2 separate regions of the Homo sapiens genome follow, and region 2 is linked to region 1. The links are contacts of gene promoters, found by promoter capture Hi-C in blood cells and fetal thymus (Javierre and others, 2016). All regions are on one chromosome and are shown on one strand. Each heading gives the region's core, a stretch centred on a gene start or on the middle of the fragment in contact. The rest is flanking DNA. Distances are from core to core; before and after follow the strand shown.

Region 1 (4,553 bases), core at 595-3,094:
CCAGGAGTTTCAGGCTGTAGTGTGCAATGATCACACCTGTGAATAGCCACTGCACTGCAGCCTGAGCACACAGTGAGACCTCATCTCTTTTTTTGAGACAGGCTCTCGCGCTGTCGCCTAAGCTAGAGTGCAGTAGCTCCATCCCGGCTTGCTGCAGCCTTTACCTCCTGGGATCAAGCAATCCTCCCACCTCAGTCTCTTGGGTAGCTGGGACTGGAAGCTCGCTCTATGACACTGATTTTTTTATTTTTTGCAGAGATGGGGCTCAGTTTGTTGCCTAGGCTGGTGTCGAACTCCGAGACTCAAGCAAACCTGCCCCCTTGGCCTCCCAAAGTGCTGGGATTAAAGGTGTGAGCCACTGGGCCTGGCCGAAATCCCATCTATTAAAAAAAAAATGTATGAGGAGAGAGAAGACTAAATCTAAACTGAGATACAGTAATACTTAACACCAAGAGGTTCCAAGTATCTTTGACAGATACTAGTTCCACGTGCCAACAGCACAGAGCTGCAGCATTTTCTCCGGGTGTTGCTTTTAAACTGTGGTTTTCGGCCGGGCACGGTGGCTCACGCCTGTAATCCCAACACTTTCGGAGGCCGAGGTGGGCGGATCACCTGAGGTCTGGAGTTCGAGAACAGCCTGGCCAACCTGGTGAAACCTCATCTCTAATAAAACACAAAATTAGCCAGGCGTGGTGGCGCACACCTGTAATCCCAGCGACCCGGGAGGCTGAGGCAGAAGAATCACTTGAACCCGTGAGGCAGAAGTTGCAGTGAGCCAAGATCGCGCCACTGCACGCCAGCCTGGGCAAAAAGAGCGAAACTCCACTCAAAAAAAACAAAAACAAAACAAAAACACAACCAAAAAAACCTGTGGTTTTCAAGCTTTAAGGTATACAAAAATCACTGGGAGGTGTGCTCATTAAAATATATTTCTCTGAGCCCCATCTCGATACTGTCTGTAGGTTTCAGTGTGGCCCCAAAACGAACATTTTTTCTTTTTTTTTTTTTGAGACGGAATCTCCCTCTGTAGCCCAAGCTGGAGTGCAGTGGCGCGATCTCGACTCACTGCAACCCCCGCCCACGGATTCAAGTGATTCTCCTGCCTCAGCCTCCCGAGTAGCTAGGATTACAGGCATGCGCCACCACACACATCTAATATTTTTGTATTTTTACTAGAGACGGGGTTTCACCAGGTTGGCCAGGTTGGTCTCGAACTCCTGTCCTCAGGTAGATCCACCCACCTCGGCCTCCTGAAGTGCTGGGATTACAGGCGTGAGCCACCGCGCCAAGCCAAAACAAGCATTTTCAAACAAGCACTCAAGTGCCTCTAAGGTAGACTGTCCGCAGACCTAAAAACTAACTTAAAAACTTAAGACACGTCAATGTCATTCTACCCGGTTCCCTCTCTCCCACCTCCTTTCTCCAAATTGCCTCAACAGTCCTCAAATGTTGTGTCCAGTTAAACTCAATCCAACTACGTCGACTTTAGGTTTGTCACCTGTTGGCCAAAGTTACTTCACGTCACCCCACCTCCACTTTTATCTTCCGCGAGCCCTCATCCCACAACTCTTCCCCTCCCCCCGAGCCCTTCTTCCGCCTGGCGCGGCCTTCCCCACGCCGCCCGACCCACCTCTCAAGCTCCTCCCGCCCGCTACCCGCACAACTGGCGGTACGGCCGCCTGCTCCTCACTCTCCAGCTCCCGCTCCCGGCACCCCGCCGACGAAGGCCAAGAGCCACACCTTACGGCAGCTCCATGAGTCGCTCCCCCGCCGAGCCCGGGTGGGGGGAGGGGTGGCAGTCACAGATCCTAGGGCCTCGGCAGCATTTTGAAATGGCGAGTAATGAAGCCGCAACTTCCGGCCTCCCACACGGCCTCACACGAGGGCTTCCGGTGAGGCCTCCGGAAACCATAGATGGAGCAATGGGAGGACTAGAGAGCTAGAAAGGCTGAGCTCACTACCATAGAGTAGATCCTAGTCCGGGGAGAGAGTCGTGGGGCCCGAACGGTTGAAAGTCGTCAGATTTGAAGAGATAATAAGTGAGGGACTTGCAGGGTCTTGTGATATTTACAGACGTGTATTAGGAGATCAGAAAACAGAGAAGAGGAAGAGCTAAGGTCATAATCACAGGCTGCCTTCAGCTCTTCGGAAAAACTACGCTTCCTCTGCCATTCCCCAGTCCTCACCCTTACTCCCCAAGGGTGGTAGGGAAGGGAAACGGAGCGATGGCGGCACTAGGGTGGCAAGGAAGCTTGAAGCCATGTCAAATAAATAGTTGAAAGCACCAGCCGCTGTGGCTCACGCCTGTAATCCCAGCACTTTGGGAGGCCTAAGGCAGGCGGATCACCTGAGGTCAGGAGTTCGAGACCAGTCTGACCAATATGGTGAAACCCTGTTTCTACTAAAAATACAAAATTAGTCGGGTGTGGTGGCGCATGCCTGTAATCCCAGCTACTCAGGAGAATCGTTTGAACTTGGGAGGCGGAGGTTGCAGTGAGCCGAGATAGCGCCATTCCAGCCTGGGCAACAAGAGCGAAACTCCTCAAAAAAAAAAAAAAAAAAGAAAAAGAAATAGTTGAAGGCTCAAGGGAGTTTTTAACCTGCATATAAACGAGGGAGGCCGGGCGCAGTGGCTCTCCCCTGTAATCCCAGCGCACTTTGGGAGGCCGAGGCGGGCGGATCACCTGAGGTCAGCAGTTCGAGACCATCCTGCCCAACATGGCGAAACCCCCGTTTCTACTAAAAATACAAAAAATTAGCGGGGCATGGTGGCGGTCACCTGTAATCCCAGCTACTTAGGAGGCCGAGGCAGGAGAATCGTTTGAACCCGGGTGGCGGAGGTTGCAGTGAGCCGAGATAGCGCCATTGCACTCCAGCCTGGGCGACAAGAGCGAAACTGCATCTCAAAAAAAAAAAAAAAAAAAAAGAGGGAAAGGGTTGAGCATAGAAATTGGAAGCTGTCTTCAAATAACTGAATAGTATAATATTGGAAATAACGGAGCCTTATTCTCTTCTCCAAAGTGCAGAACTAAAACCAATAGAAATTACAAGGCAGTATTTTTAAGCTCAGAAAATCCTCTAACATTTAGAGTTGTTCTGAAATAAATGAAATTAGGTATTTGGGGGAAGTAATGTCATTTGAAGACAGCCTGCCTGAGAGGTTTGTTGAAAGCTCTTCTATATTAGGAAACATTAAAACTGGCTGTGTAACCCAAGAAAGCTCCATCTCAGTGTTCTTTGCACCTGTCTTTTAGCATTTACCACGTATTTTTTTTTTAGTTATTTGTGTATATACCATTCTTATCTCTCCCAATAAGCAACAACAAAACCTGGCTCCCAATGCTAGATACAGACCCATGCAAAAGAACACAGGGCAGTAACCTTCCTTAAATTTGTACATTCCGCTTTGTTCTACTTCTAGCATAACCTCCTGCATAGCTGGGAGATCCAGGGTTCCATTAAGGAGCTGAAGAATTAACTTCTTTTTCATAGAAATCTGCAACCACCTCACTCACAAAAAAAAAAAAAAAAAGGTCAAGGGTGCTTTTTTAGGTGAACCACTGTCAACTATTTCCCCTGTCCTTTTGTGCAATTAGTATTTTTTAAAACTTTCAACAGGAATTTTTTTTTTGTAACTTTTAAATAGCATCTGGTTAGTTTGGATCCTTTCCTAATGTCTCCTGGAGCCTTGGAATATGATCTGTTCATGCAATTCAGTTTGTGTGAGATCAACAGGTATTTGTTGAGGCCAGGTGCAGTGGCTCACACCTGTAATCCCAACCCTTTGGGAGGCCAAGGTGGGAGGATCGTTTAAGCCCAGGAGTTCAAGACCAGCCTGGGCAAGAAAGCGAGAACACCATCTCTACAAAAAAAAAAAAAAAAAAAAAAAAAAAAAAATTAATTAGCTGAGCATCCTACTTGTGCCAAGCACCAATCTAGAGGATTCCAAAACAAGACCTGAAATCTGTCTAGTGGAGGAATCAGACTGTCCAGGTAAAAAGAATGTGGTAAGTGCAATGATTGATGAGCTGCAGTTAACCTCCTCTAGGTTAAGAGAGATAAGCCTTTTCAATTTGGGCAAAATATTGACCAACATCTTTAATTCGTCTTCATTTAAAATCTCGAGGGCCCGGCGCAGTGGCTTATGCCTGTAATCCCAGCACTTTGGGAGGTCGAGGCAGGTGGATCACGTGAGGTCAGAAGTTCGAGACTAGCCTGGCCAACATGGTAAAACACTGTCTAAAGATACAAAAAAGATTAGCCGGGTGCAGTGGTAGGCGCCTATAATCCCAGCTACTCGGGAGGCTGAGGGAGGAGAATTGCTTGAACCCGGAGGAGGAGATTGCAGTGAGTCGAGATTGCTCCACTGCACTCTAGCCTGGGTGATGGAGCCAGACTCTATCTCAGTCAATCAAAAAAAACAAAACGTTGATAAATATGTTGACGAGGCCATGGTGAAGAATAGAGTTTTTCCCATCGTGGTTGACACTGATTTGTGAGTAATTGCTCATCTTCTAATTTTTTTAAAAAAATAGACACAGGGTCTTACTATG
Region 2 (4,553 bases), core at 1,245-3,744, 170 kb before region 1:
CATGTAGTAGGTGCTCAATAAATGTTAACTGCTATTACTTGAATTAATATCGTTACTCAGGAAAGAATCAGAGCTGGGGAAGTTCAATACTTTGCCTGAAGCAAGACAGAGTAAATGGACAAGTAGAGTTCCAAATCCAAATCTTTCCAGCTCTAAAAGCTACACTCTTTCTCCAATCTCATTGGGTTCTAAGACATTTGGAGTCAGCTCAAGATAAGCCTTCCCCTATTTTCTTCTCACAGCTGATGAAATTCCCTTATGCCTCATCTAGTACATCTCACAGGCTTTGCCACTCAGGATCAACCACTTAGTGAACGTTACTTGCATTTATCCCATTTATTATTTCAATAATCAGTTATTGGACATCTACTATAAAGGACTGGTCTTATCTTATTAAGGTGTAAGACAGTCATAGGCTCCAGAAGCTTACCCTCTGGTTAGGAGATAAGACACTTGAGTATGCATAGTTATTGGGAAGCTGGGGTGCTGACATGAGTGCTCTCTCCGGTCGTGCAGTTGGTAAAGGACTCCTAAAATGTCCTCCTTTTCACCATCATCCTGTCTACATTGACATTGGCCCTTAGACTGGAAAGGTGGCTCCAGTGACTCGACAAGGGACTCAAATGCTCAGGCTAAAAGCTTGGAGTCAAGTTTTGACCCCTTTCAATCAGTCAGTCTTACAGTTCTGCCAAGTCTTCTTTACAAAGGCCCATGCATTTACTCTATTCTCACTGCTCCCCTCCTCCTAGATTCCTGCAACAGCTACCTCAATAGTCTCCCATCCTCCTGCCTCTTTCATCCCAAATCACCTGAGGATGGGTCCACAGATAAACTGCTGAGCCTGGCAATTCGGGCCCTTCATCAGCTGCTCCCACCCTGTATACTCAATGTGGCATTGTCGCACTGTGAAAATGAGGTCTCACATTCTGCCTACAGATTTTGGGCTACTGCCTTAAACGATCTGGGCCTCCATCCCCCGGTCTGTTAAAAGGGGATATTAGTCAACTCAGAGTCTAAGATGACAGAGATGAGAAAAGGCTGGCATCTAATAGTAGCTCTATAATTTTCCTCCCTTGCCCCCTACCCTCCAGACAACCCATTCTACTCTGCTTGTCTCCACTTTCCTGCCTTTGCTGGTCCCCATATTCTCTTCCAGTTCAAATCCTATCCCTCCAACTAGGCTCAGTTGGAGACTCAGCTCCTCCGTTAAACCTTTTGTGAATAATGCTAGTCCATTAAGGTGGTTTCTTTTTGTATTTCTATGGCACTTCCATCGTCTTGAAATATTAAAATTGGTTTCATATAGTTCCAACCTGTCACTCTGAGCTCCTTGAGGCCATTATGCTCCGTAGCAGGGGTGGAGAGTGGGAACATGGGGGTGGTTTAGTGGGAACTTAATATGTGCTCATTCAATATATGAAGGTGAGAATCCCCTCTGTGCATACAGAACTCAGACCTTCAAGCCAACTTCACAAAAGCCACCAGGCATGGCAGTCACCACTGGCTGTACCCTTGGAAAAGACAGGGCCAGAAGCTCAAGCACTGGATGACGGCAGGCAGCCCAGGGAAGCCACTCCTCACAGGACTCCACACCTTGGCCTCCACCTCATCCATTCCCCTGTTGTTGGTTCTGCAGGCTCTGGTCCAGACCCATCAGTAGGGTGTGGCCTGCCATGGAGCCGAGTTTGTGATGTCTGTTCTGAGTGGTCCAGGCTGAAGTCCCCACCAAGGCATGGGTGTTGGGCATTGGGCCTTTGCCCTCCTCTAGTGGCAGTCACCCAGCTTTTCTAAGCCACCAGGCAGCAGCCTAGCACCCACCTTTGGCACCTTCTTACTTTCCTCCCCCAGTCTTCATGATGTCCAGCTGGCAGAGTGGGGAACCCTGAAGCCAAACCCCTAACTGGGCCTGCCAGTTCCTGACTGAAATTGACCTCCTTCATTGAGAGCCAGGACGGAATCTTCCAGAATGCTAGAGCTGCACGGCTCAGGATGCAATGCTGGAAAAGCATGACAACTAAAGGGGTCTTCCACTCCATTCTTTAGGGTGAGAGGTGCCTGGGCCCAGTGACAAATTCTCACCCACCCCACTACATTCCTTAGTCCACTGTTAACTTCGGGAGGGTAGCACCATGCAAAGCAAAAATGTGATCTTAGGTGCATGCTGTGACTGTGAGCTGCACCTGTCCTCACAAAGCTGCTGAATTCCCCATTCGTCTCCTGGCCTTTGCAAGAGGGTCCGAGGCAGTATGAGAGAAGCCAACCCTTCTCTTCCCGGACCCAAGGGCTGTGCCCCTTCTCTCAGCCAAGCCTTGTGTCTCTAGGCACAAGGACAGCTCAAGCGTTAGCGTCTGGCCCCACCCAACTCCTTCCTCCCGGGTGTGTGTGCGTTAGGTAGAGGGGGCCTCTGGCCACTCAGGAGTTAAAATGGCAGCGGGACTGGAGGGGGTTGGCGTGGCATGCAGACTGGGAGGAGGCGACCGGAGTGGGCTGGGGAGGTTGGGAGAGCGGCGGAGAAGCGAGTGAGGAGGGCGAGCGCGAAGCCGGGAAGAGGGGCGCGCGTGGAGGGGGTGCCGGGCGCCGCGAGGGCCTGCTCCGGGCACCTGCGAACGCGCGGCGCTCTCAAGGAGCGCCTGGCTCTCGCCCGCCAGCCTCCGGCCGCGACGCGCCCAGGGCGCGGAGAGGGGGTGGGGACGGATTGGGATTCTGCCATCGCCCTCACCGGCTGGGCCCTGGAGCCGCTCCCAGGATAACTCCACGTTGGGGAGGGCGCCCGCCGAGCCTCCCCGGCCTGTGCAGACGGCGCGCGCGGCGGGAGGGCGCGGACCAGCGTCCCCAGCCCGGCCCCGGGCGGAAGGCGAGCGGAGCGCGGCCGCGCGGGCAGCAGACGGCAGACGGTGCCCGGCGCCCACGGGGTGAGTGTGCAGCTTCGGGGCTGACCTGGGCAGCGCCGCCGCCGCCGGGGAATCGTGGACACCGAGGTCGCTGGCGTGGCCGAGGCGTACGCGGCGGGAGCGGCCGGAGCAGCCGCCTCAGGGCTCCTGGCTCCTGCCCCGGCACCGCAGCTCCGCCTGACCCGGGTGGGGGCCAGAGGAGGGCCGGCCGCTGCCTTCCGCCGAGACGCCTGCGGGGGAGCCGGAGACTTGGGAGAGGGAGGCGGCCGAGGGGCAGAGGGACGGAGGGCTGGAGAATGCCCAGAAGCGGCCAGGGAGAGGGCGCCTGGGCCTTCGCCTGGAGAGGCCAGAACCTCCCCCAAACTGTTGCTGGGTAGAGTGGGGCCCTGGAGATGTGGAGGAGCCGAGAGGTGGCAGTGAGGTTAGGGAGGGCGTGACACGGGCGGACTGGCAGGCTGGAAGCGCTCCAGAGCCTGGGGACTTTCTCCTCCTTGGAGCTCGCGAGTCTGTGCGGAGGGACAAGGTGGCCTTGGGTCTGTCTGAAGTATCTGGAACCAGGAGCTAGGCTCCTCCCGGGCCGGCTGGCTGGGGTCCGACCGCAGCCTGGGATGGGACCTTTGGGGTGGGGGATGGGCCGGCCTGGGGCTCAGCCTGGGGACTCGGTCAGGGGGAAGCGGAAACGGAAGGGTGGCTCTGAGCCCACCGCAGGACCCAGGAGACAGGATGGGCTGGCCAGCCACAGGTGGGCCGTCTGTCCTGCTGGCAAAGGGTGGCGCAGGCTCTGGCTGCCCAGCCGGCGAGGAGCCGCGGGGTGAGGGAACTGAGCTCCATCTGGGGCCGAGCGGAGAAGCTAAAGAGGTGCAGGAGACCCGGAACCTGGGGAGGGGCCCCGGGGGTAGCACTGTGCTCCCTACCCTTCCTCCCCCACCCAAACGAACAGGAAGGAAAATGTCAGCTGGGCTTTGTGCTCTGTTCCTCAGGCTGCCGCAGCTCCCATCTGTTGGAGCCAACGCAGCTTCTAACTGGGCGACTGGCAGGGTTGGAGGGGGTGGGCTGGGCACAGCGCTCAGTTGCCAGAGATGGACTGACAGGCCCTCTGCTTGAGAACTCCAGGACCTAGGGTGGTGAGGAGAACAGCCTCCCTAGGTCAGGGCAGTAGAGGTGACTCCCTGCCAGTTTGGTCACTGTCATAGGGGAAGATGTAGGTCTCCCCATGCACCCAGGCCGATGGCAGGCTCCGTGCCCCCCTTTCCCGCCAGTCTAGGATGGGCTCTGGCCCAGCGTTTTGTCCCTGAATAAGAAGGCCAGGAGCTCCTCCCATTGCCCACTGCTTCTTAAAGATCCCTTCAAAAAAGAGCACTGGGCATGGAGGGTAGAGGTGGGCTCTGCACTGGGCACTGGAGCCCCCTTGCCTTTGGGCCCTGTGGCTACCAGAAAAAGCCACATGTGGGTGGCCTGACCCACTTTCCTGGCCAGGTGCTGTTGTGGCGAAACGATGGAAACAGAAGGGCAGAGCTAGGGATCTGAGCCTCCTAGGCCTTCTTCCTTCCCCTGTGCTGACTCAGGCTTCTCCTTCTTGCGGAGGGCTCTCTCTGGTCCTGGGATGGGTCCTCATTATTTGCAAAGCATGGAACTAAAGGCCTCAGTGCCTGGGAGATTGAG

What was found. Contacts are between HindIII fragments. The CHiCAGO score rates a contact against its expected background, and 5 or more counts as called.
Region 2: a contact is called between the fragment with the promoter of LRRN2 here and the fragment with the promoter of MDM4 in region 1, in 2 of 17 cell types (erythroblasts and fetal thymus). The highest score is 9.1, in erythroblasts.

The regions. Positions count from the first base shown.
Region 1 is chr1:204,513,697-204,518,249 of GRCh38, reverse strand. MDM4 (MDM4 regulator of p53) reads right to left here and starts at 1,844. Exons shown (of 11, transcript NM_002393.5): 1 at 1,741-1,844. RefSeq lists enhancers at 1,572-1,851, 1,882-1,961, 1,972-2,101, 1,540-2,450, 1,391-2,590 and 1 more. The HindIII fragment of the contact is 1,369 bases long and covers 885-2,253 here.
Region 2 is chr1:204,683,679-204,688,231 of GRCh38, reverse strand. LRRN2 (leucine rich repeat neuronal 2) reads left to right here and starts at 2,494. Exons shown (of 2, transcript NM_201630.2): 1 at 2,494-2,912. The HindIII fragment of the contact is 5,264 bases long and covers 642-4,553 here.